Regions from separate parts of the Homo sapiens genome. Here region 2 is linked to region 1. Evidence: promoter capture Hi-C in 16 types of primary human blood cells and fetal thymus (Javierre and others, 2016). All regions are on one chromosome and are shown on one strand. The core of a region is centred on a gene start or on the middle of the fragment in contact, and the rest is flanking DNA. Distances in the headings are between cores, read along the strand shown.

Region 1 (5,218 bases), core at 1,722-4,221:
AGCTGGCAAGAGCCCATGCAACAGAAAGCCCTCCACATACTGATGGAGCTGGGTGGCCCGGAGCAGTTCCTGGCTGGGGGTGGACCGCGCCATGGGCGGGGAGCTTTCCCCCTCCGCCTTGCCCTCTCCACTGGTCCCTAGGAGCAGCTTATGCAGCAGCAAAGAGGGATCCCTCTGGAAGAAGACATTGAGGATGTCGATGAGGCGGGTGAGGTTGTGGAAGACGTGCTCCTTGAGAGCCGGACTGTCCTCAAAGTAGAGTAGCTTGCCGCTCTCATGCAGGTAGGAGAGGGCACTCTGCAGTCGGTCCTCGGTCAGACCCGCCTGCAGGCCCAAGCGCGCCGAGTCCCACCAGCTTAGCCACAGTCGCTGGGCCTGAGGTGGCTGGAAATGCAGTTCCTCCAGCACCTGCCAGGATCGAGGCAGTACTCTGTGTAAGTTGGGGAAGATCTCTCGGTGCTCAGCAACTGACAGCAACTTGTCCCGAAGGCGTCGTAAGTGGCGCGGGTCCCTGCAGCTAACAGGCAACACGGGGGAGAGGATCTGCAGCCGGTGGTTGAGCAGGTATTGAAAATGGGCCTTGCGCCGTCGAAGGTTCTTGTCCGAAACGCCATAGTAGGCTGCGTGGGGGCTGGCAGAGCGCAGCTCGAAGTCCCGGGCCAGTGCCTCGTCCACCACCTTGGCCAAGCGGCTCAGTCCCTCCGCGTCGTGCTTCTCCTGCAGGGCGATCTGGCGGTGAATGTCCAGACATTTCTCCTCCAGCTCACGCTCTCCGCACAGGTCTGCGTGGGTGCCCACGATGCACACCACCGCGTGGGGCACTCTCGCCCCGACCCGATGCAAGAAGGAGCCCACGGTGGTAGGAAAGTGGCGAGGCTCATAGGTGGCCAAGTTGACCACCAGCACGTATAGGGCCCCTGGGGACAGGAAGAAGGGCTGGATCACCTCATAACTTTCATCCCCAGCTAAGTCATACACGATGAACCGCAGGCCCCGGGAGGCATCGGCCGTCCAGCTGGTCACCTCGATGCCCTTGCTCACAGGGGGAGGTGACGGTGGGTAGCACTTCTCCTTGTCCCCTCCTCCTGGGCATCCCTCCACTCTCTCCTCGGTGAGGCAGTGGCGCAGCAAAGTCTTTCCTGCAGCCTTATGCCCCATCAGGAGCAGCTTGAGCCGGGGCTGCACCGCCGGCTGGGAATGAGCCAGTTCCTTCTGGTAGGCTGCGATGTAGGGGATCCCCTTCATGCAGACCTCGTAGGGGGGCTGGATCAGTGGGTTGTCTTTGATCTTCCACAAACCCACCCGGGAGAGCTGGCCAAAGTGGTCGGGCAGCACCGCGATCTGGTTCCCCTGCAGCACGAGCTCCTCCAGGCCGGTCAGCTCCACGATGGAGTCCGGCAGGTAGCGGATGCGGTTATTATCCAGCCACAAGGTGAGAAGCCGGCCCAGGCCCGAGATAAGGGATGGCACCGAGGTGAGCTGGTTGCGACTAAGGTAGAGCTCCTCCAGACCAGCCAGGGGCAGCAGCGCGGCAGGGAACTCCTCGAAGAGGTTGGAGGAGAGGTTGAGCATTTTGAGCCGCTGCAGGCAGCTGAACTGGGCGGGCAGAGCCTGCAGCCCGTTGTTGTCTAGCATGAGGCTCTCCAAACTGGCCAGCTCGCAGAAGCCGGCGGGCAGCGTGCCAAGCTCGGCCCCACTCAGCCAGAGGATCTTGAGGGCACGCAGGGCACTGATATCCTCAGGCAGGCCCCGCAGCCGGTTGCTGGACACGTCCAGCTCCTCCAGGGCCACCAGCTGCAGCAGCTGCCGGGGGAAGGCAGTGAGCTGGTTGTGATCCACGTCCAGGGTGCGCAGGCGGGAGAGGCAGGAGAGGGAGTCAGGCAGGTGCGCCAGCCGGTTAAAGCTGACATCCAGCTCCTCCAGGTGAGCGAGAGCGCCCAGCTGGGCGGGCAGGGCGGGCAGCTGGTTGTGGCTGAGGTTGAGCTTCCGCAGCTCCCTCAGAGCACTCACCACCTCCGCGCCCAGGGCGGTCAGCCGGTTGTGGCTCACGTCCAGCTCGGTGAGGTGGTGGCCGAGCTCGGCCACCGCCGGGGGCAGCCGGGCGAAGCGGTTCCTGCGCAGGACCAGGACGCGCAGGCTGCCCAGCGCCGACCCCAGCCCCTCGGGTACCTCCTCCAGGCCGTTGTTCCCCAGGTTCAGTGCCTCAATGTCCCCGAGGTTGGCCGGCAGCACGAGCTGGGGGGAGGCGGGGGACTCGAGCGCGTCGGCCCCGGCCCCGGGGCAGGCCCCGGCGGCGGTAAGCGTGAGCTGGCGCAGGTTGCTCCGCAGCTTCCTGGCACGCAGGGCGGCGTCCCGCCACAGCCTCGCGGTCTTCAGGTTGCCACTGTCCATCCCAGCCATGGCGGGGCCCCGGGCCGACAGCCTCACGCGGACGCGGGAGCCCGCAGCTACATGCCGCGCCGCGCCCCGGGCCCTCCGGCTCCTGCCCCTGCCTGCCCTCCCGCGCTCGGCGGCCGGCGGCCGCGGGTCCTAGCGCAGCCAGCGGCCGAGCGCTGGCGGCTAGGGGGCGGCGGCGACGCGAGCGGCTCCGGGGGACGCCGAGCGCGTGGAGAGCAGCTTGCATTCTCCCTGCGGCCGGGCCATGGGCGCGCCGGGCAGCAGGGCCGCCGCCCGCGCGCCGCGGAGGATGCCTGCTCCTCCTCCCTCTCCGCCCGCCGCGCGGCGCCTCGGGGGGCCCGGCTCCGGCCCCGCTACCCTCGCAGCCGCGGTCCCGCGGCCGGCAGCGGCGTCGCCTCCTCGAGCTCCTGGGGGAGGGCGGCGCTCGGCCCGGCGGCGGGCATGCTGCGGGCGCAGGGCTGGGGCGCAGCCGCGGGGAGGGGGCGGCGGCGCCTCCTTGTCTCCGTTTCCCCGGGCTCGGGCGGGAGCGCGGGCGCCGCGTCCCCGGCGCTGGGAGGGCGCGATTGGGAAGCGGCAGCGCCGCCCGCCGGAGCGGCCCCCACGTGACCGGCGGAGGCGCCGCGTTTTCCCGGCACCGCCCCGGGGGCGGGAGCTGCGGAGGGCGCCGGGTGCGGGGCCGGGGGCGCCTGGCGCGGGGCCGGGTCCGCGCCCCGGACCATGCTGGGCGGGGAGGTCGTCCCAGCGGCGGATGTGGGGCTCCGGGGCCCCCCTGGTGGGTTCGCCCGCGCCTGGCTCTTTGTTGGCCCCCAGTCTCTAAGGATTTCTTTTTCTTGTTCTCTAATGCGTCGGATCCGCCGGCTTCCCTTACTCATCCTTTACCTGCTCCCCTGCCGCTCGCCTTGCATCCACGCCGTAGTGGAACTGGCACAACTCGGGGGCCCTGGGTATCATCATAGAAGCTTAGGACAAGAGTGTGGTTAAACAAAATTAGAACAGGCAACCATTCATTCATTTGGTAAATATTTCCTGAGGCCCTATTTCGTGTTGAACATGGGACAGGAGTAATGCAGGCTGGTCAGAGGAGAATAAAAAATACCAGGCAGCAGTTTCACTTGACTGGAGGCTATGGGCTGATAAGACCCTGAAAACCAGGGTGTGTACCAAGCTGGCTAAGACCGGCTGGACCCGACGTGGTCCTGGATTTGACCTAGGTTTCTCCTAGGCCTCCATTATACGCTCTTTAACATCCTAAGTCACACCAGTGCCATGACAATTCCGGGGACACCCATATTTGAAGTAAAAATGGGTGGCACCACAGTCCCGAAAAATCTCCACACTTTTCCAGGAATTTTCATGAATATTTCACCCCTTGGTTAAAGAAACCCATAAAGGTAGCAGCCCCAAGCCCCGTTGTGAGTGACCCTCTCCACAATCCCTTTTCCTGGGTGTGTACTTTTCCCTTTGCAATAAATCTGCATATTGTCACTATTTTCTGAGTTGTCCTTGAACTCATTCTCTGGATGTGTCAAGAGCCTGGACATTGGCTGGGGTCAAGGTCGCACTGGCTTTAGAGGATCTCCCCCAGCCCACCCGTACCAGAACTACTAAAAGACGGTTTTAACCCCCCTGGGGAAGGCTTTTGAGCAGGTGGCCCGCCAGCCTAAAGGAGGGTTGTTAAGATGGGGGGGACACAAGCTGTTTATCTGGGGTATCCCGTTTATCTTCACAACAACGCTGTGAAACAAATACTGTATCCCCATTAATACAGTACCTGTTGTTCTGCGGACTCAAGAAAACAGCTATTTTGGGAAACAGTCACAGTCCATTGTTCAACTCTAATGCTTATTTTTATTGCTGTTAGGAAATGTTTCTTTGAGCTCACATCTATGCTAAGTCAATAATTTCTCCCGAACTTATGAAAGTCTGGAAACCTACCAAGACTCCCAGTGTCACCTCCATCATTCCCTTCAGGTTGATTGATAAGGAAGCAAATAGTTTTCAGGGACCGAAAACTGCGTTCAGTTGGTTAAAGGCATCACTTGACCCACTGCAGCTCTCCCCGACATGCGCTATGGCTGTCATTTGGGGACCCATATTTGGTGCAGTAACGTGAGAAGTGTGTGTTTCCAAAAAGAGCACCTGAACATCTGAGGCTGGAAATCCACCCCAGTGATGGTTATCAGGCTGCAGGTAGTACATGCTGTAACTGGAGGATGTTCCCCAGTTCTGCTGGGTCCCTGAGGCTCTGACACCACAGATGAAATGTGAGTAAGTGAACAGCAAGAGCTGATCTGTGTTCACTCTGAAGGACTTCCGAGAGTTCAGATGGCTCAGGGTAGCCCCACCCACACTCCCTCCCAGAGACAGTCAATTTTACAACAAATATTCTGAGTTATCTAGGCTGACCCTTTTTTTCCCCCACAGAGGAGGAAATGGGCTCAAAGTAAGTGACTTCTCAATCAGCCATCAAAGTAGAGTAGAGGCAGGACTGCTAACTCCCCGTGTGGAATGTATTCCCCTGTGATCATCACCTGTACTCACACTGTTCTTGAGCCAGACCCCAAATTCTCCATCCTGCAGCTTCTTCTAACAAAAATATGAACTCAGCCTGGGTAAGGAGACTGGAGTAGGCATCACCATCCTACACCACCTTACATGATTATATCTCAATAACTGCTAACTGTTCCTCTTTAGAAGCCATCAGAAAATTATACTTCCTCCTGCAGAAGCTGAAATCAATTGAAAAAAATGAAAATTGTGCTTGCTTCAGCAGCACATATACTAAAATTGGAAAAATACAGAGAGGATTAGCATGGCCCTG
Region 2 (5,218 bases), core at 2,549-5,048, 520 kb before region 1:
TACACTGTGTTAACAGCCAAAATGGAGGCCTGTACAGAGTACTGGGGCAACCTGGAAATCTGGTTTTAGGATACACTGCATTCAAAGCAATTTGCTTTTTTCTTCAACATTTCTTGAGCACCTGTTATGTGCAAAGCAAGGAGTCAGGTGCCTTTCTGGAAAACGAAATAAACACGGCACTGTCTCTGTTTACAACTGCCCATTTAACAAACATTTCTTGAACATCTACTACATGTGATGCATTGAGCTCAACCTTAGGAATTGCAGATGGTTAAGCATGCACTTTACCTTCAAAGTGCATCTGGTCTATTTTGTAAAAAATAAACTTTTTTTTTTTTTTTTTTACAAGCTTGTACTAATCCTGATCTTGGATCAAGTTGAAACAGACACAGTTAAGGGAGAGGACTATAAGGTACTCCTGGACACAGAGCTGAGCTTACCTTTGTGTTCCCTAAACAGAACAGAGGATGTGGTGAGAATCCAGGTCCTATAAGAACCTGTCTCAACAAAGGGAATCAAAGCAGGGGTCAAGCTTTGACAGTCATATTGCACGCCTGCTGATTTAATTCTTAGCAACTCAATTCTCAGGATCCTTAAGGAACAGAACCCCAGTAACTGGCTTTTTAGCGCCTTGCACAGAGCCCACTCAAAAGTAGACAATTAATAGATATCTGATAAATTAAAGAAAGAATCTCTAATTGCTAGCCTTAGTCAAGAATGTATGCTCAAAATTAGACAGAAAGTCTTAAATGTTGAATACATACTGCTGTCAAATCAGTAATTTTTAAAGAAGTTGTAGAACAAGACTCTAGGAATCAATTTCAATGGTCCCTGCTTACAGCATTATGAGATGTCCTGTGTTTCAAGGTTCCATCCCCACACTTATGGAAACAGGCCAACTATGAATTTGCCCCTGGCATGGCACAGAATATAAACATGCATTGTTGGTACATATGCTTTGTTCTGTTTGCCAAACTCTGTGTATCTGTGGGGGCCACTGAAATACGGCCAGTATTCATTCTCCCCTGACCAACTTGACCTCCAGCCTACTTATTTAAGTTTTGTCAAAATGGCTAAACACAGTCCATGAAGATTCTCTAAATACAGTGCTTCCTAATACAAACTGTGATTTTCAAAATGCCGCCCAGAAAAGGCCGTTATGCATCAAGAGTATGGGATTTCCTAGTAAAATGTTGCCACCCAACTGTCTGTCATCCATTATAGCAGAAAGGGCCTCTAGAAGAACACATTGGAAGCTCTAATCAGATTCGATGTGGACACTGGAGACAAACACCCATCTCACTCATCCTATGCCCATCCTCCCGGTTCATGCCCAGAGATCATGTTACAGGAGAGCCCACACAGTGAAGTCATGTCAGTTCCTCTGGTTACTGATGTGGCCACTTCTGTGGACAGAAACGAACTCCACTCATGACACTGTCACTACCTGTCTACTGAGAAGCAGCTCAGGAGGAGAATTAAGAGTGAGCAAAAGACCGGGGGCTGTAGCTCACACCTGTAATCCCAACACTTTGGCAGGTGGATTACTTGAAGTAAGGAGTTCGAGATCAGCCTGAGCAACACGGTGAAACCCCATCTCTACTAAAATATAAAAATTAGCCATGCGTGGTGGCGCACCTGTAATCCCAGTTACTTGGGAGGCTGAGGCAGGAAAATCGCTTGAACCCGGGAGGCGGAGGTTGCAGTAAGGCAAGGTACCACCACTGTACTCCAGCCTGAGCGACAGAGATTCTGTCTCAAAAAAAAAAAAAAAAAAAAGAGTGAGCAAAAGCCCAAGAATAGATTTAACCTCTGCTCCCCAGCAGCCCCACAGAAAAAGGGGTGAATTTAGCAAGTTGTGGGTTAAAATTGAAATTCAATTGAGCGAAAACTTTCTTTTTTTTTTGAGGTGGAGTCTCGCTCTGTCGCCCAGGCTGGAGCTCAGTGGTGCGATCTCGGCTCCCTGCAAGCTCCGCCTCCCGGGTTCACGTCATTCTCCTGCCTCAGCCTCCCGAGTAGCTGGGACTACTGGCGCCCGCCATCACGCCTGGCTAATTTTTTGTATTTTTAGTAGAGAGGGGTTTCACCGTGTTAGCCAGGATGGTCTCGATCTCCTGACCTCGTGATCCACCCGCCTTGGCCTACCAAAGTGCTAGGATTACAGGTGTGAGCCACCGCGCCCGACCATGAGTGATAACTTTCAAACAAAGACATCAGCTGGGCGTGGTGGCTCATGCCTGCAATCCCAACACTTTGGGAGGCTGAGGCAGGTGGATCATTTGAGCCCAGGAGTTCGAGACCAGCCTGGGAAACATGGTGAAACTCCGTCTCTACAAAAATATAAAAATTAGCGGGGGCATGGTGGCACGTGCCTGTAGTCCCAGCTACTCAGGAGGCTGGGGTGAGAGGATCACCTGAGTCTGACAAGTGGAGGCTGCAGTGAGATGGCACCACTGCACTCCAGCCTGGGCGGCAGAGTGAGATTCTGTCTCAAAACGAAACACACAAAAAACAAAGACGTCACCCACTTTCTTGGGGAAATTTTTCTTTTGATTAGTCTCACCTAGGGCCAGACCATTTAGACACTGAAACCACATGAATCGGTCTTATTTCTTAGTCACCTGTCATCCTCAATTCCACCTGGGCTCAGGCCTCTTCTCCTAACTTGAGGTTTCTTGGTGAAACGCTTATCTGCACTAACCAGATGATTCTCTTTCAGCTGACCTAGTCACCCAAAAGTCATTAAGTCATTTAAAACCGGGTTTGCATCTGTGAAAAAGCAAAAGGCAGAAAGCAATTTGGTTCTTTCTCATCTTAATTGTTTCCCCAGCTCTGCTGTTCTCGTTAATGTTGGCCAGGCTGGTCTTGAACTCCTTACCCCAAGTGATCCACCCGCCTTGGCCTCCCTAAGTGCTGGGATTATAGGTGTCAGCCACCATGCCTGGCCAAATTGCCATTAAGTCTTAAGCATGACATTTAAACTATGAGTTCACCCTTCTTTCCTGAAGTATTTTTGTTTCCTAACCAGCAGTATTTGTTGATCCTCATCTTATAATTCTGCCTTATATTGGGACAGGGGTGACCCAGAGACTCTGTGAGATCCATCATTCTTAGTAAGTGTGACTTTGTGGGTATAAAAGCTTGCCTTGACGGCAACAGGGAAGGAAGTATCCAGGCCTTGCCGTACCCGCCTGGGTTGGAGGGTTGGGCAGGCACTTAACCTCCTCCAAAGAAGAACTGTTCTGGGCATAAAATGAGCATGGAGAGCCTTTCTCCTGCAGGGCACTCCAGCAAGAGGTTTCTCAGGAACACGAATGGGAGTTTACAGAGGACAATATCTCAAAAAGACAGATAAGCTACTGCCAAACATTCAAAACAGGACCACAGGAAAGCCAAGTCATTCTTAACATCTATTTTTTTCCCTCCAGGTCAGAATCAGTTTTGTAAAATAGGGCGATAAACAGAACAACAGGCAAAAGAGAAAATCATTCCCCGTTCTTCCATAATGACCTAAGGAAGCAGACGATCTGTCTCTCTCACACCATGTAAGTGGAAAGAAACAGTGTCCTGTATGAAGCAAGTCCTTTTTCTAGAGGTGTGAGCGTAGGTAACGCACATAATGAAGCTGATCATTAGAAATAGGATCTATTTCACAAATGGGCCCATGTGAAGAAATCAGGTTGACCTTGTATGTTGCTTGAAGACCTTTCACGTTCTTCCATTTTGGAAAACTGACATCAGCCTGCCATAATTACCAGTGTGTACTGGAATTGGTGCCGGATCAACTGCTGGCTGCATTCTCACTAACACTCTGATTTGCCAACACCCTGACCTACTAGGTTGGAAGACTCTGGGGTTCCTGGCACTATCCCCAGCGGAGGTACTGAGTTCCAGAATTAAAAGTCAGCATATGTTCCCAGGCCTGCCCTCTTATCTTCTCACAGGGAGATCCGAAAGATAATGTCAGTAATGCTTGAGAAATGAAAATGCTTCCCCAAATGAAAATATATTCTAGTTTATTTTGAATAAAATAAGATGCTCTTGTTTTTCTGTGTTCTCTTAAGCTAATTTTATTTTCTAGATTTTTTTTTTTTTGAGACAGGGTCTTGCTCTGTTGCTCAGGCAGGAGTACAGTGGCACAATCATAGCTCACTGCAACCTCCACTTTCTGGGCTCAAGCCATCCTCCCACCTCAGCCCCCAGAGAAGCTGGGATGACAGGCATGTGCCACCATCCCTGGCTGATTTTCATATCTTTTTTGGTGGAGACTGGGTTTCACCATGTTGCCCAGGTTGGTCTCAAAGTCCTGGGCTCAAGCAGTCTGCCTGCCTTGGCCTCCCAAAGTGCTATGATTACAGGCATGAGCCACTAAGTCCGGCCCTTCTTTTTAATTCTTTTTTCTCCTCTAACTTGTTTATTTTTTAAGAGCTGAAACCTTGAACCTCCAAGATTCCCATCAAGCTTGAGCTATATGCAATCTAAGGGTTTTATCATAACAAACTGGGCCGAAAAAACTCTGATCTCAACCCAGATGCTAATTAAAACCCTACCTGAGTCATGTTGCTATGGTTACTGGGATTTCTCCAAGCCCCGAGATTCTTAAAGGAGTAAATTTTAGTTACTTCTCCAAGGCTCAGAGTGGCGTTCCTGGGATTGAGCCATGCTAGTTCCCATAGGGTGTGGGTGTCATTGCACAATCAGCAGCCTGGGTGGCTTCTGCCTACATCATCACTAACCTCTGCATTGGATTCCATTGTTTGTCTCATTAGAGGTTTACAATAGCAGGGTGTTATCAAAGTACTATTATCATCTCATTTTAGAGAAGAGACTCCAGACTCTCAGTTTAGAGACCAACTCTTTTAGAGAAGGGACTGGAGACTCAGTCACAGTGAGTGGCTTATACAAGGTCACTCCATTTGTGAGAGAGAGGGAATAGGAACTTGGTTTTCTAATGCCAATACCTGTGCTTTCCACTAATTTACCCAGGACTGAGGCAGGCAGATACAATTTGGATGTTTTACTCTCACGCCCTGCTCAATTTCCATGCTCCTTGATGTCCTGTAGGTTCAGGAGGAGCGTAGACTTAGGAGTCTTGCAGGTACAGCAGGAACCTTAGGCTGGTTACCCTAGCTTTCTATCTCTGCTTTGTCATCTGTAAATTGGGGCTGGCAATTCCTACCTCTTAGGGCTGTTCTGAGGATGAAATGAGTTGTTATGT

What was found. The method cuts DNA at HindIII sites, captures the fragments that hold promoters and counts their contacts. A CHiCAGO score of 5 or more calls a contact.
Region 2: a contact is called between a fragment that was not itself captured here and the fragment with the promoter of MFHAS1 in region 1, in 1 of 17 cell types (activated CD4 T cells). The highest score is 5.7, in activated CD4 T cells.

The regions. Positions count from the first base shown.
Region 1 is chr8:8,890,659-8,895,876 of GRCh38, forward strand. It overlaps MFHAS1 (multifunctional ROCO family signaling regulator 1), which reads right to left and starts at 2,972. Exons shown (of 3, transcript NM_004225.3): 1 at 1-2,972. The coding sequence starts at 2,400. It also overlaps the pseudogene RNU6-682P. RefSeq lists enhancers at 1-432, 433-1,392, 1,393-2,353 and silencers at 2,198-2,467, 2,578-2,857, 2,868-3,117. The HindIII fragment of the contact is 4,068 bases long and covers 1-3,354 here.
Region 2 is chr8:8,369,373-8,374,590 of GRCh38, forward strand. The region is part of intron 3 of PRAG1 (PEAK1 related, kinase-activating pseudokinase 1); the gene reads right to left. Among named protein-coding and RNA genes, the nearest start is that of PRAG1, 14 kb to the right of the region's middle. RefSeq lists a silencer at 1,887-1,986. The HindIII fragment of the contact is 1,321 bases long and covers 3,139-4,459 here.